Regions from separate parts of the Homo sapiens genome. Here regions 1, 2, 4, 5, 6 and 7 are each linked to region 3. Evidence: promoter capture Hi-C in 16 types of primary human blood cells and fetal thymus (Javierre and others, 2016). All regions are on one chromosome and are shown on one strand. Each heading gives the region's core, a stretch centred on a gene start or on the middle of the fragment in contact. The rest is flanking DNA. Distances are from core to core; before and after follow the strand shown. Region 1 has its middle 69 kb from the start of C16orf95. Region 2 overlaps FBXO31 (F-box protein 31). Region 3 holds the start of FOXC2 (forkhead box C2). Region 4 has its middle 65 kb from the start of LINC02181. Region 5 overlaps ZCCHC14 (zinc finger CCHC-type containing 14). Region 6 has its middle 43 kb from the start of LINC02181. Region 7 has its middle 82 kb from the start of LINC02181.

What was found. The method cuts DNA at HindIII sites, captures the fragments that hold promoters and counts their contacts. A CHiCAGO score of 5 or more calls a contact.
Region 1: a fragment that was not itself captured here is called in contact with the fragment with the promoter of FOXC2 in region 3 in 3 of 17 cell types (M2 macrophages, megakaryocytes and endothelial precursors); the score reaches 6.8 in M2 macrophages.
Region 2: a contact is called between a fragment that was not itself captured here and the fragment with the promoter of FOXC2 in region 3, in 1 of 17 cell types (monocytes). The highest score is 5.4, in monocytes.
Region 4: a fragment that was not itself captured here is called in contact with the fragment with the promoter of FOXC2 in region 3 in 4 of 17 cell types (M2 macrophages, endothelial precursors, M1 macrophages and 1 more); the score reaches 6.0 in M2 macrophages.
Region 5: a contact is called between a fragment that was not itself captured here and the fragment with the promoter of FOXC2 in region 3, in 1 of 17 cell types (M2 macrophages). The highest score is 6.9, in M2 macrophages.
Region 6: a fragment that was not itself captured here is called in contact with the fragment with the promoter of FOXC2 in region 3 in 6 of 17 cell types (M2 macrophages, M1 macrophages, M0 macrophages and 3 more); the score reaches 10.9 in M2 macrophages.
Region 7: a contact is called between a fragment that was not itself captured here and the fragment with the promoter of FOXC2 in region 3, in 5 of 17 cell types (megakaryocytes, M0 macrophages, M1 macrophages and 2 more). The highest score is 8.9, in megakaryocytes.

What each region holds. Positions count from the first base shown.
Region 1 is chr16:87,247,248-87,250,296 of GRCh38, forward strand. No RefSeq gene overlaps it. Among named protein-coding and RNA genes, the nearest start is that of C16orf95, 69 kb to the right of the region's middle. The HindIII fragment of the contact is 5,714 bases long and covers 1-3,049 here.
Region 2 is chr16:87,324,076-87,327,416 of GRCh38, forward strand. It overlaps FBXO31 (F-box protein 31), which reads right to left. Exons shown (of 9, transcript NM_024735.5): 9 at 2,912-3,341. Among named protein-coding and RNA genes, the nearest start is that of C16orf95-DT, 8.2 kb to the left of the region's middle. The HindIII fragment of the contact is 7,131 bases long and covers 1-3,341 here.
Region 3 is chr16:86,564,898-86,568,436 of GRCh38, forward strand. It overlaps FOXC2 (forkhead box C2), which reads left to right and starts at 1,932. Exons shown (of 1, transcript NM_005251.3): 1 at 1,932-3,539. The coding sequence starts at 2,439. FOXC2-AS1 (FOXC2 antisense RNA 1) reads right to left here and starts at 2,864. Exons shown (of 2, transcript NR_125795.1): 1 at 2,720-2,864; 2 at 248-421. RefSeq lists enhancers at 2,067-2,651, 2,652-3,235. The HindIII fragment of the contact is 11,287 bases long and covers 1-3,539 here.
Region 4 is chr16:87,120,915-87,124,379 of GRCh38, forward strand. No RefSeq gene overlaps it. Among named protein-coding and RNA genes, the nearest start is that of LINC02181, 65 kb to the left of the region's middle. The HindIII fragment of the contact is 1,409 bases long and covers 1,316-2,724 here.
Region 5 is chr16:87,417,007-87,420,222 of GRCh38, forward strand. ZCCHC14 (zinc finger CCHC-type containing 14) reads right to left here. Exons shown (of 13, transcript NM_015144.3): 6 at 2,777-2,871; 7 at 1,841-1,895; 8 at 454-736. Among named protein-coding and RNA genes, the nearest start is that of MAP1LC3B, 26 kb to the left of the region's middle. The HindIII fragment of the contact is 4,091 bases long and covers 1-3,216 here.
Region 6 is chr16:87,098,674-87,102,214 of GRCh38, forward strand. No RefSeq gene overlaps it. Among named protein-coding and RNA genes, the nearest start is that of LINC02181, 43 kb to the left of the region's middle. RefSeq lists an enhancer at 330-1,045. The HindIII fragment of the contact is 4,577 bases long and covers 1-3,541 here.
Region 7 is chr16:87,138,370-87,141,604 of GRCh38, forward strand. No RefSeq gene overlaps it. Among named protein-coding and RNA genes, the nearest start is that of LINC02181, 82 kb to the left of the region's middle. RefSeq lists an enhancer at 1,771-2,970. The HindIII fragment of the contact is 3,962 bases long and covers 1-3,235 here.

The DNA.
Region 1 (3,049 bases), core at 67-2,566, 680 kb after region 3:
CCCTTAGAACCCTCATACACTGTTGGTGGGAATGTAAATTAGTATAGCCACTACGGAAAACAGTGTGGACATTCCTCAAACAATTAAAAATAGAACCATCATATGATCCAGGAATCCTACCACAGGGAATACATCCAAAAGAAATGAAATTGGCATGTTGAAGAGACATCCGCAATCTCATGTCTATTGCAACACTATTCATAATAGCCAAGATACAGGATCAACCTAAGTGCTCATCATGGATGGATAGACAAAGAAAAAGTAGGGTTGTATATACACAATAGAATACTATTCAGGCTATCATTTGCAACAACATCAATAAACCTGGAGGTCATTACGTTAAGTAAAATATAAACATAATATTGCATAGAAAGACAAGTTCTGCATGATCTCGCTTATCTGTGGAATCTGAAAAAGTTGAACTCATAGAAGTACAGAGTGGAATGGTGGTTACCAGGGGCTGGGGTTGGGGGAAAGAGATTGGGAAAATCTTGGTCAAAGATACAAAATTTCAGTTACATAGAAAGAATAAGTTCAAGGTCGGGCGCGGTGGCTCACGCCTGTAATCCCAGCACTTTGGGAGGCCGAGGCAGGCAGATCACAAAGTCAGGAGATCGAGACCACGGTGAAACCCCATCTCTACTAAAAATACAAAAAATTAGCCCGGCATGGTGGCAGGCGCCTGTAGTCCCAGCTACTCGGGAGGCTGAGGCAGAAGAATGGCGTGAACCTGGGAGGTGGAGCTTGCAGTGAGCCGAGATCGCGCCACTGCACTCCAGCCTGGGCGACAGAGTGAGACTCTGTCTCAAAAAGAAAAAAAAAAAAGAGAGAAAGAATAAGTTCAAGAGAGCTATTGTAAGTAACATGGTAACTATAGTTAACAACAATGTATCATATACATGAAAATTGCTACAAGAGTAGATTGTGTTCTCACCAAAAAAAAAAAAAAATGAGTATGTGAGGTAATATATGTTACTTAGCTTGATTTAGCCATTTCGCCATGTACACAAATTTCAAAACATGTTTTCCACCATAAATATATGTAAATTGTATTTGTCGGTTTTTTTGTTTTTTGGGGTTTTTTTGTTTGTTTGTTTTTTGAGACAGAGTCTCGCACTGTCGCCCGGGCTGGAGTGCAATGGCGTGATCTTGGCTCACTGCCACCTCCGCCTCCCAGGTTCAAGCCATTCTCCTGCCTCAGCCTCCCGCGTAGCTGGGATTAAAGGTGCCCACCACCACGTCCGGCTAATTTTTTGTATTTTTAATAGAGACAGGGTTTCACTATGTTGGCCAGGCTGGTCTCAAACACCTGACCTTGTGATCCGCCTGCCTCAGCCTCCCAAAGTGCTGGGATTACAGGCGTGAGCCACCGTGCCCAGCCTATTTGTCAGTTTTTTTAATCTCCCCTGTGTAGCCCCAGCAAGCTCCTTTCTGGTGATTAAATTATCCTGTATCCTGATGGTGGTAGTGGTTACACAGATCTATACAAGAGACCAAGAGCACAGCAACACACACACACACACACACACACACACATATGCGTGTAAAAACCAGTGGAATCTGAACAAGGTCTGGAGTCTAGTATTGTCCCAATGTCAATTTCCTGGGGCTGCTATTTTGCAGCAGTTACATAAGACACCCCCACTGGGGAGAGCTGCAGGGAGGGCTCGGGAGATCCTTCGTACTATTTTTGTAATTTCCTATGAAGCTATAGTCATTTCAAAAGTAAAAGTGAAAAACAAAATCCCTCCCACAATTTCATCTATTCCAATACATTTCTTGCCACTTAATTTGGGTTGCACTATTTGTAACTGGTAACACACCTAAAATTATTTTGGTAATGAGGAGGCTGAAATGTTTGGGCTTCCAGTGTGTTTTCAGAGGTTTTGTTTGGGAGAGAGGCGAGGAAATAACCCCATGCCCTTTCTGCAAATGGAGCAACTGAGGCTTTGCTGAGATTCATCCACGAGATTGGGCACTCGGAGTAAGGAGCCACGTTGACTGCACTCACCCCTGCATTGCCTGCCCCACCACTGAACCGAGCACCCGGCAGACACAATCAAATTTCAGTAAATGAATACATCATTTACGACAGTCACCCACCATCCCACTGGTAACTCCACAGATGAGCAATGGCAAGCCAAAACTCAAGAGAGACACCAGGAAGGTTTAGACAACATGCCAGAAACTGTCCCTGAGAAAAGGGGAGCCGAGGCTTTGTGAGCAACACAAGCCGAGTCACTACAGACAAATTAGTGACCTTCTAGTTCAGCTGGCCAGGGTGGACCAGCAACTCTGTTAAACAGGAACCTGTCGGCCGGGCATGGTGGCTCACGCCTGTAATCCCAGCACTCTGGGAGGCCGAGGTGGGTGGATCTCTTGAGGTTGGGAGAAAAGGGAATGCTCACACACTGCTGGTGGGGCCGTATAGTTCCGCCACTGTGGAAAGAAGTGCAGCAATTTCTCAAAGAACTTAAGGCAGAACTACCATCCAACCCAGCAATCCCATAATGGGGTATATACCCAAAGGAATATAAATCATTCTACAGGAAGGACGTATGCACACGTGTGTTCATCACAGCATTATTCACAATAGCAAAGTCACAGAATCAATCTAAGTGTCCATCAGCAGTAGACTGGATAAAGAAAATGTGGTATATACACACCATGGAATACTGTGCAGCCATAATAAAGAACAAGATCATGTCCTTTGCAGCAACATGGATGGAGCTGGAGGCCATTATCCTAAGCAAACTAACACAGGAACAGAAAATCAAATACCACATGTTCTCACTTATAAGTAGGAGATAAATATTGAGTATGTATGGACAAAAAGAAGGGATCAATAGATACTGGGGCCTATGTGAGGGTAGAGGGTGAGAGGAGGGAGAGGATCGAAAAACTACCTCTCAGATATTATGCTTATTACCTGGGTGGTGAAATAATCTTTACAGCAAACGCGCATGACATGCAACTTGCCTATATAATGAAGCTACACATGTACCCTAAACCTAAAAGTTTTTAAAAAGTTTTTTTTAAATATTTATGA
Region 2 (3,341 bases), core at 728-3,227, 760 kb after region 3:
CTCATATGGGAAGGGAAAAGTCGTGGTTTTATAAGCAATACACTCTGGCTGAGCCCAAGTTAAGATTTCCAGTCCAAGTTCATCAGCGCCTAGCTTCAGCCGGGACTGCTCTGGCCCCACTGCTGTGTGAGCTGGCGCTTCTGATTCCACCCCACACTCGGTGAAAGGGTCCCAGAGCAACTGACACTGAGCGTCACCGGCGGCGGCTCTTCCTAGAGGAGCATGTTCAGGAGAGGTGAGGCTGCGGGGCTGGGGCCCTGGGCTAATACTCCCTGGCTGTGTGACCCTGGGCAAATTACTCAGCCTCTCTGAGCTGCTGCTTCCTCTCCTGTGGAGTGGGCTGATCCCAGCCACACCAGCACTCCTGGTTGTTCCGTGGTTAATGTCTGCCAAACACGGTGCCATGGAGAACACCCAGCAGAGCCCAGCTGCTTGTTTGCTGGGGAGGGACAGCGCTGCAGGGGCGCCTCCCCCTGGCCCTCCAGCACCTTTCCACCTTGCTTCCAGGACCTCCGCGGCTCAGAGGCAGTGCAGGTGGGCTTCAGGGACGGCAGGGAGGGCCCACGCCGGCACACAAGGAAGAAGGGAAGGCGCCAGGGATCGCACCCCTCAGGAAGAAGAGGGACGGAGGCAAAGATAGGAAGGACACGCATTGTGCCTTCTGTCACTTGGGGATTTTCAAGTCAAAATGGGGAGGGGGCCGGGGTAGGTTTGGAAACTATCCAAATGGCATTTTGTTTCACATTGCTGGCTGGGGGCAAGCCCTCTGCAGTGACCCTACATGCCCACTAGAGGTCACACCACAAAAGGGGACCTCCCCTAAGGAGGGGGGACAAACGGAGGACCCTGGGCACCGTGCCTCCTGCAAGGGGAGGAAGGATGAAGCCCCGCCATCCATCGGGTGGGGAAAGCGCCATGCCTCCGGCAGCACAGCCAAGCGGCCCCCACAGGGAGGAGTGAGCTCCATATGGGCCCAGGTGACCCGGCCACAACACCCTCTCGGCCTCCGCCTCACCTGCTGGTGTTGGGCATGGCCAGCCTGGGCAGCCACCAGCCCTCGCTGCCCATCTGCTGTCCCCTCAACCCCAGCAGCAGACAGAAAAGTGCAGGGTCTGAGCCCCCGGGGGGATGCTGGTGTCGGACAGATCCCTGGAGAACAAAGCCTGTGCCCTTGTGTCTAGGTGAGGCTGCGGCACCCAGGCCCGGAGCAGGTCCCCCCAGCTGGGCCATCCCCACTCTTGGAGCAAGAGGGGAACTGCAGCAGGAAGCAGCCTTCTACTCGTTCCCCATGACCTTATTTTTTTTTTCATTTTAAAATAAAATATGTAAGAGAAACATATGAAAGACGCCACATTTAGTCCCTTATCAGATCCACACTTCCCCCTGTGACCTGGGAAATCGGGGTGCGTCTCCAGTCTGTGGGGGGCAGGGTCTCGTCCAGACAGGAGGCTGCATGGTGCTGCTTGTAGCAAGTGACTCGTTTGTGGTTGGCACGCCCAGTGCAGCTGAGGATGACCCCGTGGCTTGGCCCCAGGACAGGACCCAGGCCCCACAGAAAGGCCTGGAAACAGCAGCAAACCTTAGAGAAGGAAACACCCACCACCGGGGACCCACGATCCCCTGCTCTCCCCGGAGAAGGAAACACCCACCGCCGGGGACCCACGATCCCCTGCTCTCCCTGGAGGGCACCCAGGAAGCAGCCGCAGCTGGCAGGCTATGTGGCAACCCCGAGACCAGCGGAGATGGCAGTGGGTGGGCCTGCAGGTCACTGCCCCTGGGCACTGTGTCCTGTCTGAGGGGCTTGTTTCTGAACCACACAGAAAAGAGGGGGGGTCTCGTAATCCACGGTATCAGGATCAACAGGTGAACAGATGCTAGTTCTGCCATGCGATCCTTACTTTTTAAAGCAAAACAGTTGAAGTTCTACCCTCCGACACCCCTAGAAGTGACCACACCATTCCCACGCGTATCTTCAGCTTTTCCCCACACATGAATTGATAAAAATTAAGTATTTGCATTTTTACATGTTACACCAATACCATCTCTCACTTGTTTTGCAACGGAACAAGGCTGTGTGCCCGTCTGCCAGGTGACAGCATGGGTGGCTCCACCGTAGTCCACCTGCCTCCTTCCGGCCTGTGACAGTTGTCACAGTGTAGCAATGAACATCCCTGCGTGGCCCATGCCTGGGCTCTCGCGTTGCCCGAGGGTGGACACCTCAGGATGCAGATGCCAGTCCCTGGGCCCGTGTCCTTAGTGCCATGAGCTAGTACCAGCTGTCCCCAAAACAGCTGCCCCACCTGCGTTCCTGTTCCCCTGCATCACTGCCAACACTTGGAAAATCACACTTGCCAATTTCTGCCAATCGAGGGTGTACTTTGAGTGCATTACCATGGAAAACATCCTGTTTCTACAATTCCAAGCTAACAGCATTAATTAGCAGCAGTGACTCACGGGGAGGCTGGGATGAGAACAGGGGGTACTTTCACTGTCTATGCTAAAGAACTGTTTACAAGAACATATGAGTTTAGTAAACACAAAAGAAAGATCAATGAGATCCTCAGTTCATCTGCCTGGCTCTCAGCACATTCCCTCCCATATCTGTCCTCGTTGCAGATAATGCAACTCACTTTGGCTTAAATCTAAGAAAATCTACTGGGGCCCGAACTCCTCTGGGTCCCTGGGTAGGGACTCGAGACACCTCTGATGCCAGGTCAAAGGGAAGGACACAGGGACAACCACTGTCTGGGCTCCAAGGCATCCCTTCAATGCTCCCTTCTGTCAACGCGGGAAATCTGACACTTCCTCAAGAAGCTGGGAAGTCTGGGTTCCCAGGCCGACAGCTCGCATGGCTTAAGGCTCTCGCCTCCGTCCAACTCATATTCCCAAAGAAATCACAAAACACACAACAAGCCTTCAAAAACGGATTTACTTGAAACTGTGAGGAGAAACAAGTGCACGGGTGCAGGTGGCGGCTGCCAGGATTGCTCCGGTCCTACCTAGTGGGTGCCTACCCAGGCAGGGCACAGCTCCTGCTGCAAGGTCACCTTACCAGGGGGTGCAGAGGTGCTCATGATCAGATGGCACAGCGCTTTCCTAATGCAGGCAGGCTACATGGCCCCCAGAAACAACCAAATGCAGAATCAGGCCAAAACCCACACAGCCCTGACCCCCTCGTGCTCTGGCTGGTCTCCCGGTCAGCAGCCCCTGAGGGCCGGCAGGCAGGCCACTGAGCTGTGGGTGACACAGGGTAGTCCACGGTTTGCACAGTCTCATTCCCATTCAAAGACAGGCCCCAAGGCTGGGGCGCAGGGGCTCACGCCTGTAATCCCAGCACTTTG
Region 3 (3,539 bases), core at 682-3,181:
AAAATAATAAAGTCATGGTGGGAGTTTAGGGTTGGGGCAGAAAGCTCAAATCATTTGCCTGTGAGCTGAGAACTGGGCAGCTTTATTTTACTTTGTTTCAAAGAAAGAAGAAAAAGGATCAGGTTAGAAAAAGAGCCCAGAATACTCATAAAAACAATGTTTCAGAAGTGGAATATTCAAGGTAAAGGAACCTGATTTGTAGCTTCCCTTTGGCTTTGAATTGATCAGGAGACAAAGATAATGCATCTACATTTTCGTCTTCTGTTCTTTTATTGGAAATAAGTGGCACGCCCCATTGCCTTCTAGTCGCCTCCCCGAAGCGAAGAGGCCGAAGCGAAGAGGCCTGGTGGGTTGTCTCAACATCCTTTTGCTGAGAATCGAATACGCAGCCGATGAACAGCCAGGAAGGGTGCAAGGAAACCTGAAATACAAATGTTCTCCCTGAAGCCCTCTTCCCTGCCCAACCAGACCAGCAACTTCCAAAATTCTGCCCGTGTTTAGCCTTGTTAAAGGGGTGTCTCACTCCTTCAGGGAAAGTGGGAAAAGGGGATCTGATTATTGAGGTGTGGAAGGAATAAATAATCAGTCCACAAATAAACAAACTGTCCGGGATTCCTAGAGGGAAGGAGAAATCCTTGAAGGAGATCCAAGTCGCTCCAGGTCTGCCTGCCGAATAATATCATCCCGAAGGGATCTTGAACCGTTTGCAATCAACCGCTCACCCAGTCTTCCCACGGAGCGCGCTCCCTAACTCACCCTACCCACCCAACAAAACAAAAAAAAGGCTGAAATATAGAAAAGCAACTTGGAGGCTCCCAGGGGGACGTTGCCAGGAGCAGGAGGCAGGGACAGCGCCCTAGGGTCGGTGTTAGCGGCCGGCGCCGGCCTGGGCCACGGGAAACGTCCACGCTTGGTGCCCGCGGTGCGCGGCGCTCATTGCGCGCGCCTTCGAGCCAAGCCCCCGCGGAAAACAGGCTCGGGTTTCTCCTCGCAGGGCCCAGGAACTCGGCTCTGCCTGGCCCGGGTGGGTCGCTGCATTGTCCCGGTCTTCTGGGAGTGCGGGGTCAGCTTGTTAGAGGGAATTTCTACCTGGGAAAAGGGAGACGAGTTTCGAAGCTGAAGTTGGTAGGCTGCGAGTGTCCACGCGGGAGACGAAAGGGGGAAATAGCAGAGTCACTTCACCCTTTTCCCCAAACCCCACAAAACTGCTCGCAGCGACGCGGATGATCTACCGAATTCCCCGCGAATTCGGAGGATTAAGTTGTCAGTCAGCACGTTGCTACCTTCCCCTCTATGCACTCCGCTGCCTGGCTCCTCGGCGGGGAGCGAGGGAAACTCAGTTTGTAGGGTTTACCTCTAAAACCTCGATAGGTTATCCTTGACGACCCCGAGCCTGGAAACTCCCTGTTGATGATTAATTATTTGATTAAATAAGTATAACATCCAGGAGAGGCCCTGCCATTCCAATCCAGCGCGTTTGCTTTGAATCCATTACACCTGGGCCCCCATAATTAGGAAATCTAATTATTCGCTTCATCACTCATTAATAAGAAAAATGTCCCAGGATCATTGCTACTTACAAGGTCTTTGGGAGAGATATTTTACTCTATTAATCCATTCTATTTTATATTTCAAATTGATTTTTTTTAACAGAGGAAAGTGGCTATCTTTTTGTTTTGGGCATGTGGGCCCATTCACCAAAATGTGATCATAAAATAAATTTTAATAAGATATAACTTTTTAAAAAGTTTTCAAGTGAAGACGGAGTCGCCGCGGAGGCCGGGGCGGCGGGGTCTTAGAGCCGACGGATTCCTGCGCTCCTCGCCCCGATTGGCGCCGACTCCTCTCAGCTGCCGGGTGATTGGCTCAAAGTTCCGGGAGGGGGCGTGGCCCGAGGAAAGTAAAAACTCGCTTTCAGCAAGAAGACTTTTGAAACTTTTCCCAATCCCTAAAAGGGACTTGGCCTCTTTTTCTGGGCTCAGCGGGGCAGCCGCTCGGACCCCGGCGCGCTGACCCTCGGGGCTGCCGATTCGCTGGGGGCTTGGAGAGCCTCCTGCGCCCCTCCTCGCGCGGGCCGAGGGTCCACCTGGGTCCCCAGGCCGCGGCGTCTCCGCTGGGTCCGCGGCCGCCCGCCTGCCCGCGCTGCCGCCGCCGGGTCCTGGAGCCAGCGAGGAGCGGGGCCGGCGCTGCGCTTGCCCGGGGCGCGCCCTCCAGGATGCCGATCCGCCCGGTCCGCTGAAAGCGCGCGCCCCTGCTCGGCCCGAGCGCCGCCGCCCGCGCACCCTCGCCCCGGAGGCTGCCAGGAGCCCGGGGCCGCCCCTCCCGCTCCCCTCCTCTCCCCCTCTGGCTCTCTCGCGCTCTCTCGCTCTCAGGGCCCCCCTCGCTCCCCCGGCCGCAGTCCGTGCGCGAGGGCGCCGGCGAGCCGTCTCGGAAGCAGCATGCAGGCGCGCTACTCCGTGTCCGACCCCAACGCCCTGGGAGTGGTGCCCTACCTGAGCGAGCAGAATTACTACCGGGCTGCGGGCAGCTACGGCGGCATGGCCAGCCCCATGGGCGTCTATTCCGGCCACCCGGAGCAGTACAGCGCGGGGATGGGCCGCTCCTACGCGCCCTACCACCACCACCAGCCCGCGGCGCCTAAGGACCTGGTGAAGCCGCCCTACAGCTACATCGCGCTCATCACCATGGCCATCCAGAACGCGCCCGAGAAGAAGATCACCTTGAACGGCATCTACCAGTTCATCATGGACCGCTTCCCCTTCTACCGGGAGAACAAGCAGGGCTGGCAGAACAGCATCCGCCACAACCTCTCGCTCAACGAGTGCTTCGTCAAGGTGCCCCGCGACGACAAGAAGCCCGGCAAGGGCAGTTACTGGACCCTGGACCCGGACTCCTACAACATGTTCGAGAACGGCAGCTTCCTGCGGCGCCGGCGGCGCTTCAAAAAGAAGGACGTGTCCAAGGAGAAGGAGGAGCGGGCCCACCTCAAGGAGCCGCCCCCGGCGGCGTCCAAGGGCGCCCCGGCCACCCCCCACCTAGCGGACGCCCCCAAGGAGGCCGAGAAGAAGGTGGTGATCAAGAGCGAGGCGGCGTCCCCGGCGCTGCCGGTCATCACCAAGGTGGAGACGCTGAGCCCCGAGAGCGCGCTGCAGGGCAGCCCGCGCAGCGCGGCCTCCACGCCCGCCGGCTCCCCCGACGGCTCGCTGCCGGAGCACCACGCCGCGGCGCCCAACGGGCTGCCTGGCTTCAGCGTGGAGAACATCATGACCCTGCGAACGTCGCCGCCGGGCGGAGAGCTGAGCCCGGGGGCCGGACGCGCGGGCCTGGTGGTGCCGCCGCTGGCGCTGCCCTACGCCGCCGCGCCGCCCGCCGCCTACGGCCAGCCGTGCGCTCAGGGCCTGGAGGCCGGGGCCGCCGGGGGCTACCAGTGCAGCATGCGAGCGATGAGCCTGTACACCGGGGCCGAGCGGCCGGCGCACATGTGCGTCCCGCCCGCCCTGGACGAGGCCCTCTCGGACCACCCGAGCGGCCCCACGTCG
Region 4 (3,465 bases), core at 770-3,269, 560 kb after region 3:
AATTAAGGTTGTTGGGGAGTGAATTATTGATTTATCACATTAATTACTGAAAGAGTGAGTGTGGGAAGACTTTCAAGAAGGAGGGATTCACTGGGAGCTGGGTGGGTGGGGCGTCGGGGGATAAAGAATGCTCTTGATCCTAAAGGGCTCTGAGCTGTGTTGGAGGCTGGGCTGGTCTGAGACCTTCAAGGGAGGTGGGAATGCCTAGCACGAAGGGACCAGGACAAGGGTGGAGGGGAGAAAACCCAGTGTTTATCTGGAGGTCCATAAAGAGACAGCTCTTACCTAAAGCAATGTTTCCACCCCATGTTCTGCCAAACACTGGTCCCCCAGGATGCTATATGAAGGACAGGGTTGCATGATCCTTTACATTAGGAAACACCATATGTTCTAGCCCAAAGCAGCCAATAAAAATGCAATGTGAGCCACATAAATAATTTTAAATGTTATAGTAGACGTGTTAAAAATGTAAGGAGAGGCCAGGCGGGGTGGCTCACACCTGTAATCCCAGCACTTTGGGAGGCCGAGGCGGGCAAATCACAAGGTCAAGAGATCGAGACCATCCTGGCCAACATGGTGAAACCCTGTCTCTACTAAAAATACAAAAATCAGCTGGGTGTGGTGTCGGGCGCCTGTAATCCTAGCTACTCAGGAGGCTGAGGCAGGAGAATCACTTGAACCCGGGAGGCGGAGGTTGCAGCGAGCCGAGATCGCGCCACTGCACTCCAGCCTGGCAACAGAGCCAGACTCCTTCTCAAAAAACAAAACAAAACAAAACAAAAAGTAAGAAGAAACCAAGGAATTTATTTGTTTAGCCCAATGTACCTTCAATATTGTCATTTCATTATGTAATCAATATAAATGAGATTTTTTCACTCTTTCATACTACAGCTTCAAAATCCAGCATGTACTCACACCTAAGGGACATCTCAGTTCAGATCAGCCCAACATTGGAAGCTGTGGCCCTAACTCCTCGTGGAGGTAGACAAGCAACAGCCCCTCTATTTCATCTTTTTTCTTTCTTTTTTCCCGGCACTTTTTGCTCAAGAAGCTAGTGTTGCAGAGAGCTGGGGTAGGGCCTCCCAGCAAGCATGCAGCTTCCCGGGCAGAGAGAGCAGACTGGTACCTCAGAGGGGCTGAAGCCAGGCATCTGTGATCTTAGCTTAGGCCAGCCTGCTGCCAGGGTGGAATTTCTTTGAAGTCTTCTGTTTTATCCTAAAAACTTATGGAGATTTTACATCTTACTCCAAAGAATACCCATGTTTGTTTGAGTATTGGAAATGTTTTAGATTACTTGGCGTCTAGGAAAAATCAAAGCTTAGCGTGTTTACGTTGTGGCTCCCCCTGCCCGTTCCGTCTCCCCTTGGGGCTGTGCGCCTCCCAATTTAAGATGCACAGGATTACCTGGTCTCCACGCTTCCTTCCAGCTCTGGGTGCCCATGACTTTTTAAAGAAATTAAACCAAATGGTCCATTTGCATTTAGGCAATCCATGAGCCTATGTGGAGTTTTGTTTGTTTATTTCTATGTTTGTTATGGGATTCCCCAGCCTTAACCATTCTAACGTGGGATAACCCCCACCCCATTAACCATTCTAATGTGGGATAACTCACTAGCTAGGAGCCTTAGACAGCAGATCTTCCGACCGCTCCCTTTTCACAGCCAGTAACTCTTCCCATTGTGCTGAAAACAACCTATAGCTCTGACTAAAACTCCCCAGAAATACCCCCAGATGTGTCCCTAGAAAATCCTTCCTCCTGGAAAAGGCATGGTCCTCACTGAAATTACTTTTGAACAACCAATACTTAGACAGAGATCCCCAATATGATTATAATGTCTAATCTTCTTTAGAGGCAATATATTACCACTAATTAACGTGGTAAATGTTATACTTAATGTAAAATTTTTCATATAAATAAACATTTTAATAAATACAAATATACTTATATTCATTATATAATTTGTTCTATATAACGATTACATAAAATTAATAAAAATATCATATATAAAATGTGTCACCTAAATAAAATATAAAATTCTACAGATATATATGATTGATATGGGAGCTTTATGATAAATATAATTGTGTAATATATATGTTTATAAATGAACAAATATATTATAAATTATATTTTAAATTATTTTAAAGATTATTATCAATAAGAGTGCCACTAAGTATCTTCAGCTTAAAGGGTCCAGGAGGTCTGAGATGCACACAGAGGCTCCTAGGCAGCATGCGGTGGTTTGAGTCCCAGCAGGAGGCTTCTGAAGACTGCAGTGGACCTGAACATCCCCCAGAGACACTGGACGCTTCTGAGGCAGGCAGTAGCTTTGGTGGCCATTTGCATTTTCTAAAGAGGGCCACCACAACATATCCCAGGCCGCATGCTGTTTTTAGGATGTGACCCTGATGCTCCCCCAGTCAAGTGGTGAGGAACCCGTGCCCAGGTTCAAGAGGAAGTTTGTGACTGTCTCAACCAGTAAGGTACAGCAGAAATGACTGCCAACACTAGACCATAGAAATGCCACCAGTGTCCACCCTGTGTGCTTAGAACTCTGCCTCCATGGTGGGAGGAAGCCCAAGCAGCCACGAGGCAGACCGCGTGCAAAGGTTCCAGATGAGAGACCCTAATGAAGGTTCCAGTTAACAAGCAGCCTCAACACCAGACATATGAGTAAACACACTTTCAGCAAATTCCAGAACCCCACCATCAACTCACCTCTAAGCTTGGAGCCCCCGCAGCTAACACCACACAAGACACAGATGAGCTGTGCCTGCAGATCCCTGCCCAAAGTACGGTTCACGAGCAGAAAATGAAAGAATGTTGTTGTTCCCATCCCCTAAGTCTGAGTGGTTTGTGACTCACTGGTAAATGACAAGGTCGCAGCGTCCGCAGCAGCCCTGAGAGCCTGGCGAGTGTGAGTCCCAGCCAGGCCTGCCAGGCTTGCTGCGTGATCTCAGGCTGCTTGGCCCCATAAGCCCCTGGTTCCCTGTCGGTTAGACAGCCAGGATGCAAACTTCCATGCACCTTACAGAGTTGTCATGAAGGTGGAATGAGATGCCATGGGGATGTTTCATTTCACCAGCATCGCTACTGTCGCTAGTCAGCACATGGGGCAAAACCCATTGAAAGCCAATTAAATCACGCCCCAAACCAAGCCCTGGGACCTTCCCAGCAAGCCAGAGCAGCTGGTTCTCACTATCACGTGGGGATAGACCGTTCCTTCCTCACATAAGCACAAGCAGTGGCCAGAAAAGGCGCAAGAAAAATGCACCTCTCCAGGGGTGAGACTCTCACCTCCTTGAGAAAGATGCTCACTAGGCGGGCTGAGCTCACCAGGACCCACTGAGAGAGCAGCAGCTTCTCACATGCACACCACACACTCACGCAACACACAACACATACACGACACACACATGCAACACACCACATACACAACACACACACCACAAACCCAGCACACA
Region 5 (3,216 bases), core at 629-3,128, 850 kb after region 3:
TTTTTAACAGTGAAAAAATGTTCCTCATAAGAATTCTCTAGGTACGACTGCTTGGAAGATGTAAAATGCACCCATTCCTCTAGATCTGGCCCGCCGCAGTGTCTGCGCCAGCTACGCCGAGAAATGTCTAAAAGGGGCACCGTGCCAGAGCTCAGGATTTCTGTCCACAGCAGGGCTCTGGGGACGGACTGTCCCTCCCGTCACGCAGAGCATCTAGTTTGTGAAGGTCTTGAAGCCCCTAGACAAGCTGTTTGTTTACAACATGTCCTGTTTGTGGCTGGCTGCAGCTGCAGGCGGCCTCCGCAAAGCCCACCGTCTCCCTTAAGAACAGGCGCTGCGCCTCGGCCTCCGTACTTCATCCACCTTGTGTTGGTTTGGAAACTCAATGCCCCCAGGGAGGTCTTGAGTAAACAATCTAGCAATTCTGTACGGCCAGCCAGAAAACCGACATACCTTCTCCATGGAGAGCTGCTTAAAGACGGGGTAATACTTGTGCAAACGCAGTTTCCTAAGCCAGTCTAGAATCCCATTCTGCTCCTGGGTCTGAGGGGTCTGCAGACTGGAAGGCATGAGGATGGCAGGTGATGTGTCCATCTGGGTCCGGTAGGCCAGGGCTGAGCCCGCGCTGCCCGCATGGGAGCAGTGAGGCAAGGGGGCGGCGGAGCCGGCCGGGTGCTGCCCGTGGTGCTGGGCTCCGCTCTGCGAGGACGGGATACCAGCCACTCCACACACAGGCCTGTGGGACAGGGGCAGGAGGGACACAGAGAGACTGTGGCTTCCACAACCACAGACTCCACCACAGACCTCACTTCCAGGCCTTTCTGTGCCAGCCTCTGCCTCTTGGCCGGCCCTGTTGTCACAGGCCACCCTGAACTGCCAACACTGCTGTGCTATGACTGCCCTCCCTCCCCAACCACCTTTCTGCAGCTAAGATTTCTGTAATGCATGTCTGTGCACACGTGTGCATACAGGCGGCTGTGCATATACACACACATGCCTCTGCCCGTGCTTCGGAGTATGCGTCTACTTGTGTGTACGTATGTGTATTATGTATGTGTACGTCTCTGTCCCCACCAGACTTCTGCTTTAGCTGCCAAGTTTCTGTTACTTGTATTTTTTAAAAACATGCTACTCCGATAGGTATTTCTGTTACTTCTAAGTCACAGAATGACACTGATAAATCATACATCAAAATAGACTATTAAATCTTTAATGTTCAAATACAATTTTTCTAGAAAAGTAAAACGCAGAAGGCTGGAAGGTGTGACCGGCACTCCACTCTGGCCTTGCTCCTTAACTGCAAAGTCACACCTGCTGACTGGGCGCTTACCCTACCCCGACACCAGGAGGATGCCAGTCTACGCCTCGAAACCTCGCGCCCAGACAACATCTCCACGAGACTCCCTATGGGGGTGCGTGTGCACTGATCTGTGACAGCCCACCTCACTGTCAGCAAAGATGGGAGCCTCTGTGTTGCCGGCATACGACTGCAGCTACCCAGGGCCCGTGCGGACAGAGGACGCTCCTCAGGAGCACGACCCTATGCTTCTGGGAGCAGGTTTCTCACAGCCAGATTCTCGGAAATTCTGACTTTCTACGTCTATGATGGGGCCCAGGACCTTGCACTGGGGAGGAGTCCCTGGGAATTCTGATTCCAGTGGCTTAGAGAACTCTTTTTTTGGAAATCGTAAATTCAATCATCTCTACTCAATTCTTCTCAATATCATCCAAGACTCAACTTGAGCATGACTTAATTCTTGGAACAACTTTACACAGAACTCAAAGTAAACATTGTAAAATGCTTATCTGAACTGTGCTGGTTACATAGAAGATTTCTCACCTTCCAGACACGCCCATCACGGTACCTACTTTAGAAAGGGAGGGATTGCCAGGACCTATAAATTTAAAAATAAATACCATAAAAATTTACAGACAATGAAAATATTTGTTTTATTTTATTATTTTTTGAGACGGTGTTTTGCTCTTGTTGCCCAGGCTGGAGAGCAATGGTGCGATCTCGGCTCACTGCAACCTCTGCCTCCCGGGTTCAAGTGATTCTCCTGCCTCAGCCTCCCGAGTAGCTGGGACTACAGGCGACTGCCACCACGCCCGGCTAATTTTATATTTTTATTTTATTTTGGAGATGGAGTCTTGCTCTGTCAACCATGCTGGAGTGCAGTGGGGCAATCTCGGCTCACTGCAACCACCGCCTCCCGGGTTCAAGTGATTCTCCTGCCTCAGCCTACTGAGTAGCTGGGATTACAGGAGCCTGCCACCACGCCCGGCTAATTTTGTATTTTTATTTTATTTTGGAGATGGAGACTTGCTCTGTCAACCATGCTGGAGTGCAGTGGTGCAATCTCGGCTCACTGCAACCACCGCCTCCCGGGTTCAAGTGATTCTTCTGCCTCAGCCTCCCAAGTAGCGGGGACTGCAGGCATGCATCACCACGCCTGGCTAATTTTTTTGTATTTTTAGTAGACACGGGGTTTCACCATATTGGCCGGGCTGGTCTTGAACTCCTGACCTCGTGATCCACCCGCCTCAGCCTCCCAAAGTATTGGGATTATAGGCGTGAGCCACTGCGCCCAGCCTAATTTTGTATTTTTAGTAGAGACAGGGTTTTTCCATGTTGGTCAGGCTGGTCTTGAACTCCCAACCTCAGGTGATCCGCCCGCCTCAGCCTCCCAAAGTGCTGGGATTACAAGCATGAGCCACTGCGCCCAGCTGTTTTTTTTTTTTTTAATTTATATTTAACCATATTTTACAAACTCACTTGGACTCTGAAGCTGCTGTGGGGGAGAGGAAGTGCTGAGAAACCTCCTGACATGGTCATTTTTCAACACGTGAGAAGGTAATGAGGCCAGGTACCTAAAAGGCAAACAAGTGGTCTTATCAACATTAAAATGGCATTCCTGCTGACGAATTGAAAGAAAAAAATTTAACTTTTAATCAAGAGAAATGTGTATTAGAGGAAAAAAGCCAGAAGTGCCAGAGCCTCATATTCTTCCTGCTTTAATTCAACTGAGTTCTTGCCCGACTGCCACTGCTTCTTCAAGCCCTTCCTCTCAATGCTGTATTCATGGCCACCAAGGTTGACGACAGCAGTCATGCCCTGTGACATGAGATCAGTGCCACCCACCAGCCAGAAAGGTGCTTGGACACTGGTCCCCAGGGCCCCGGCAGCAGCACATTTACGGAACTGGTCGGCCATGT
Region 6 (3,541 bases), core at 458-2,957, 530 kb after region 3:
GGCCACGGTCCTAAAGCGCCCAGAGCAAATATCCCGAGGAAGGGAGAAAGTTCCAAGACACCTGGGAGAAAGGCATCCAGGCAGAGGGAATGGCACGTGCAAAAGGCCAGGGAGGGGACTCGCACGTTGGGTGTGAGGAAGGAGCCCAGAGTGGCTGGAGTTGGGCCGGGGGCTCTAGACGGGAAGTCCTAGGAGGTAAAAGTAGGATAGGGGAGCCCAGATCATGGCCAGGGTCTGTGTGTCCCACTGTGTAGTAAAGACCAAGCCATTCGGAGGGAGAGAGACCTGGATTCCAGAAGAAGACAGACCTGGGTTCTAGGTGGAGACAGGTCTAGATTCCAACCCCAGCTCCATATTTGAGCTGGGTTCTGAAGCATGAGTAGGAACCAGTCAGGTGCGTGCTCCGGGCAGAAGGAACCGCCTGTGCAAAGGCCTGGGTGTGGATTGCTCAGGAAAATTGCAAATGATTCCATGTGGCCGGTATTCAGAGTTACATGCTGAGGGCATTCATAAATTAAGCAGGACCCAGATTAGAAAGGGCCTTGGTTAGGCTGTGTCCCCATCCCACATGGTAACAAGCATTTCAAGTATGTTATTAACTGGTAAGAAGGGACAAACTCAAGAAATCCTCAAAGCATTACCTCCCTGTAGTGTCTGGAGGAAAAACTGCCATCATAAAGCTAATGGGGGAGTTCAACCCCTCCCTCAGACCCAAAGGAGGAGGGCTGACAGCTTGTAAAATCCCCAGCACAAAGGATTAATGGGCCAAGGAGTGACCTCTGCTACTGAAGCCTTTTGTTTTCCTGATGGTCACTGCCCCCTCCCTCCAGGGCTACAAACAGCATTTGCTGGGAGCTTTTCATGTCCTCACACCTGTTTTTTGCATTTGCTCTTCCAGCGCTGCTCCCCAACCTTCTCTCCAGCACAGCGCAGTGATAGCGGGTCCCCTTCCCTTCAGCTGCCAGTCATGGATCCGTGCCATGGGAAGCACAGCAGGAGAAGGAGGTAGCTTGGGTAGTAAAGCTCTCACCTTTTCCTAGCGCTGTGTTCTTTACCATTTGCGGGCACCTGAATAATGGCCCCTAAGATGTCTAGGTCCTAAGCACTGGCCCCAGGCAAGAAAGCACACTGGGAGGTGGGTAGGAAAGACAACTGGAGAAGCCTGAACCTACTCTTAGATTTTTAAGAGCAAAACATGTGCAGCTGTGGGTGCTTGAACAATTAGTAGAAATCCATTCCTTGCAACATGGCTCATGTTGAATAAACACAATGCCAGGAAAGGAATCCACCACACACAGGCTCCAGAGCATGTCTGCAGCCCACCTCCCCAACCCCCATTCTCTCTGAGATGACCCCTGGCTGCCACCGAATGCTGCACACTGCAAAGGAAGAAGCCAGTTTGAGAACCACCGTTCTAGAACACAGCAATGATTGCATTTGAGAGCCTAAAGGGGTGCATTGTGGAGGACAAGCAGGACGGCAAGAAGGGTGAATTCCAATTCCAGCATGCAGAGAGCGCTCACGCTAGAGCACAGTGAAGGGAGCCCAGAGACATGGTGTGTTCCAATCACAGAGAGACTAGAGAACTTTCCTTTCCGAGTTCACGTGTATTTATTCTTTCAGATTTATTTAGCACTTAGAAGGAAAAGCATTTATTAAGGAGATACTCATCATGTGGCAACCTCTTACAATGTCCTCGATTTCACTGCATGGTCACAGCAGTGTGCTAAATGGGTGTTGTTAAGGGAAGGATTAGCCCCATGTCACACTTAGGTGAGGACTCTCAGGCTTGCAGAGCTAAAAGCCAAGTTACTCAACCATTAGGTGGTGGAGTAGGTGGTGGAGACTCAGCCTAGCGTTTCTGACCCTGCAGGGCTCACACACCACGACGGGGGGCAGGCGGGGCTGCAAGACCCATTGACGGGCAGAGGTGGCCCAGCAGGAAGAGGGGAACCCTGCAGTGCAGCGGTCCATGTTTATTAGTGACTGGGGTCTTGTTTTTGTTTATTCATTTGTGAATGCGCCTCCCCTCCTAGTAAACAAGCCTCTGCAGAGGTGGTGATTTTTCCTACACAAGTGTACACAGAGCATTTTGTATGCATCATATGCCTCAGCAAAACTCTGCCAGGGAGAGCCACAGGCCTTGGGGGTGGCTCCAGACATCCCCCTTCCTCACCTGCTCCAGAGCCTCGGGAGTCCTCTGGGGTTCAGCCTAGCGTTACCTCCACCTTAACAGTCAGAACAGATTGCACAGTCTCTGCTGACCTGGCCCACATCCACCAAAATGGCTGGGCTCTCAGGCACTTTGCACATGCCTGTACTTGGGGCAGGGGGTGTTTAAGGTAGATCTGGCAGATGCGCCAACACTTGCCCTCACCACTTCCCTTGGGGCTCAAGCAGGGAGCATGGCATACAGTGAATGCAACTCCACCCTGGTAGCTGGTGCCACAAACTTTCAAGTCAGATAGACTTGAATTCAAGTCTCAGCTCTGCCACTCACTAGCTGTGTGACCTTAGACAAGTTATCTATCCTCTCGGAGCCTTTCAGTGTTACAGGAGCAACCACAAAGGTTTCCTAGACAGATTAAGTGGAATAAGACATGGAAAAAGGTTTGGGAGAGTAACTAAGACATAGTAAGTCCTCAATCAATGGCAACTACTATGACAGCTGTCATAACCATAGCGAGAGAAAGTTGCACTGAAAAGGAACTGTTATGCTTCAGTCATAATTGTATATACATACACATTGTACCTATGTATTCATACGTACATTGTATCATTAAATCCAAGCTATACATTGTATATATGTTCAGATATACATTGTATCACTGAAACCCCCAGCTACCTAGGACCTAGGAAGTAGTTTTCACATATATATACATTGTATACCTATTTCATATGTACATTGTATCACTGAACCCCCCAGCTACCCTACGATCTAGGAAGTAGTTTTCATATATATACATTGTATAGCTATCTCATTTGTACATTGTATTACTGAACACCCTCCCTTCCCCCCAGCTATTGTATGAGCTAGGAAGTGCATTTTCCTAGATCCCATCTTATAGATAAGGAAATGGAGGCTCAGAGAGATTAAGCAATTTCCACAAAGTGAAATACTAGGACTCAAATACAGAAGCATCTTCAAAAGCCCTGCTCTCTCCCACCCCCCACCCCCACTCCCATAGCTGACCACCTTCACTCCATCCTCCAGACACCCCCACGCCACCTCTAGAAGAGGCAGTCAGGGCACCTAAAATATGGCCCCCATCCAATCAGCCATCAGCAAAAGGCACTGGGAAACTGTCAGCTGTTATTAACTTTTGAAGGGATCCTGGGGCCTTTTCAAATTCTTCTGAAAGATATGGACTCTCAGCCCAGAAACGCTCACTCAAAGTTGCATTACATTCTGTAGAAACCCATCCACATGTCCCTGGGGCCCTTGAAGTCATGACGTTCCATTTCATTCCTCATAAAGCAAACACACAAAAATCTATTGGATTGAAATCTCATGGTGACTCATTCATTCATTCAACAAATC
Region 7 (3,235 bases), core at 271-2,770, 570 kb after region 3:
GTGTCTTAGTCCAAAATATCTGAGACTGGGTAATTTATAAGAAGCAGAACTTACCCTGCTCTGGAGGCTGGGATGTCCAAGATCAAGGTCCTGGCAGGCTTCATGTCAGGTGAGGGCCTGGACCCTGCTTCCACGGTGGCGCCTTGTTGCTGTGCCCTTCAGAGGGGAGGAGTACTGCGTCCTTAACTGACAGAGGAGACAGAAGGGCAAAGGATGTGGCTATTTCTCCAGAGCCTTTTATAAGGCACAGATCCCATTAACAAGGGAGGGGCCACCACGGCCTAATCACCCTCTAAAGTCCCCACCTCCAAATACTATCATATGGGGTCTTAGTTTCCAACACAGGAATCTAGGGAGATAGAAACATTCAGACCATCACAAGCTGAGCGTGAGAGTGCCCAGGGCACAGGCAGGGCAGTGGCAACCTCAGGCACAGTCAATCGCAGGAAGTAGGGAATGGATAACTAGGTGGCTCTTATGTAGAATGGTACCATTGAGAACGCCGCACCCAGCTGCCACCTTCCAATTCTAGGCAGGGTTTGATGCTGAGACAAGCTAAGAATCTCAGAAACTCAGGGCCGCACCCTCCCACTCCACCGATGTGTGAACACATAGAACATAGCATTTCAATTATGCCACGCCCGGTCTCAAAATTCAGAATTAAATGCAAACTCACCCCCATTTCCAAGCACAAGGCCGGGTGCTTTGTGATCTGGGCCCCTGACCCCGACCTCTAACTCTGACCCCTGTCCACCTCCCCCAGGACCCCCATGCCCTGCACTCCAGCTGCACGTGCCTTTTCTCACCCAAGCCCATTCCCACCTTTGGGTCCATCTAGCACCTTTGTCCTCTGCCTGCAGCGTCTCCTTCTCCCCGTCATGTCTGGATCCTTGTTATCTTCAGAGGGCAGCTCAGATGTCACCTGCTCAAAGGAGCCTCCACAGACCACACTGGCTCCCCTCACGTTAAGTTCCAGCGAGGCACCCTGTTTCCACAAAAGCACACGTCACAATCGATCATTCAGTTTTCATTTATTTCCTTTCTAATCCCCTGTCTCTACACTCATGTCAAATCCCATGAGGGCAGGGACTGTGTTTTGCCCACCACTGCATCCCCAGAGCCTAGCACGGCTCCCTGAGGCACAATGTTTGGAAAATGAATGAATGCGTTTCACTTCCTGAAGTTTTCCATGTTTAAAGGGAACCTCCAGAAGGCACCACTAAAACAGAAAATATTTCAGGCAAAATGGCTGTAACATGTGGCAGCTAGCCCCCAGACATCCACGAGCTTGGGGGTTTAATGCTGCCCCAAGAATGGCCCCACCCGAACCCCTGGAACCTGTGACTATGTTACCTTCTGTGGCAGAGGGGAATTCAGGTAGCAGATGGAATGGAGGTTGCCAATCTGCTGACCTTAAAATAGGGAGATTCCCCTGGGTTATCCAGGTGGGTCAAATGCAATCACAAGGTCCTTAATATGGAAGAAGGAGGCTGAATAGACAATCAGAGAACGATGTGATGACAGAGGCTGAGGTCAGAAAGATACAATGTTGCTTCAAGATGAAGGAGGGGCCATGAGCCAAGGAATGCAGGCGGCCTCTAGAAGCTGGAAAAGGTAAGGAAGGGATTCTCCCCTGGAGCCTCCAGAGGAACTAGCCCTGCCCACACCTTGATTCTAGCCCAGTGAGACGCAGGTCGGACTTCTAGCTTCCAAAACTTGTGTTGTTTTCAGCCACTAAATTTGCAGTACTTTGTTACCACAGCCATGGGAAGCATGCACTGTTAACAGGCTTTCTCTAAGCAGATACTAACTCACTTGATTCTCGCAGCAGCCCTGCGCAGGGGTACCAGTGCTATTCTTATTTTATGGATGAAGAAACGGAGGCATGGAGAGCTTAAGTTGCTGGCCAGGTTCCACCGCTAATGAGGGCAGAGCTGGGGCCATAAGCCAGGTGGTGGGCTCTGGAGTCCATGCTGGTGCCAACCGTACGACGATGGCCGCCAGGGGCTCTGCAGGGATTGAATGAGGTCACAGGGGGAGGCATGTGCCACGTGGCAAACCATGTGGCCTGTAGGATTGACTTCATCCTGCTTAAAAGGCCACCGACTTTCCTCTTCCGGAGTGATACCGCACGGCTTTCCATCGCTGTCCTTGGCTCGGGGGACATTGGTAAGCAGATGACTTACTGGTCAGTCACGCTGTCGCAGAAACGACGTGGGCTTGGGACCGGTGACAGAAGGCCTGGGTCAGAACTTCCACGTTCCCCACGACTGCGGGACCTTGCCAAGCCCTGTGTGTGAGTGCCCTGCAGATCACCTTCAACGCATGCCTGCCTCTCGTCACTCAGAAGTGCCTGCGGCTGCACCATCTTCTTCCTCCTGAGCCCTGATCCACTGCCCTGTGAACTTCCAGAGCCAACGTGGTTCCTGTTCGCCCCTGTCCAGCAAAGAAGGAGGAGTCGCCTCCTGAAAGTGGGGGAGCTTTGGTCTTCCTTGCCCTGCCCCGCGTTCAAGTGATACACAACATGTGGATGTTGAGATGGATTTTCTCCTCAAATGATCCCTCCAGGAGGGCAGGCTGAGCGCTGTGAAAAGCAGCTGTGTACTCATCTAAGGAGAGGGCCGGCAGCCATGGAAAACAGCCCTGCCCGGCTCCCTGCGCGACACAGACAGCCCCTCAGCCTCACTTCCTGCTGCCTCTCTCCCCGGGACCCTGGCGCCGGTTGCGTTCTGCTCTGAAAAACAAGAAAGGATTTCGGTGAGAAGCAGGAGGCAGTTGAGCTCTGCAAAGGGGCTCTGGGTTTTTTAAAAATTAAAAATTAAAAATAAATTATCAGCGACTTCAGGGAAAAAAGCATTTCTCTCCAATCCAGGCACTGTTAACCTTCTGGGGATCTCAGACCCCTCTGGAAGTCTTACAAAGCCAATAAGCTCTTCTCAGAATGTTTTCAAATGTATAAAATTTGTGAAATTACAAAAGAAACAATTACATTGAAATAGTTATCAAAATATTTTAAATTGTGATATAGTCAGATGTGTGCTTTTTTAGAAACATGGATCTCACAGAGAGTCTAATAACGTCCTTACCTCGAAGTAGCACTTGAGCTCAAATTAGAGTTTGGAAAAGCAGCCATGGCTATATATGATGAGAAAAGATCTGTGATTTTGTTGGTGACAAAATGACAGATTCTGCTAACGTGATTGGCTTGTTGCCTATGTCCATCATGGAAGGAAAA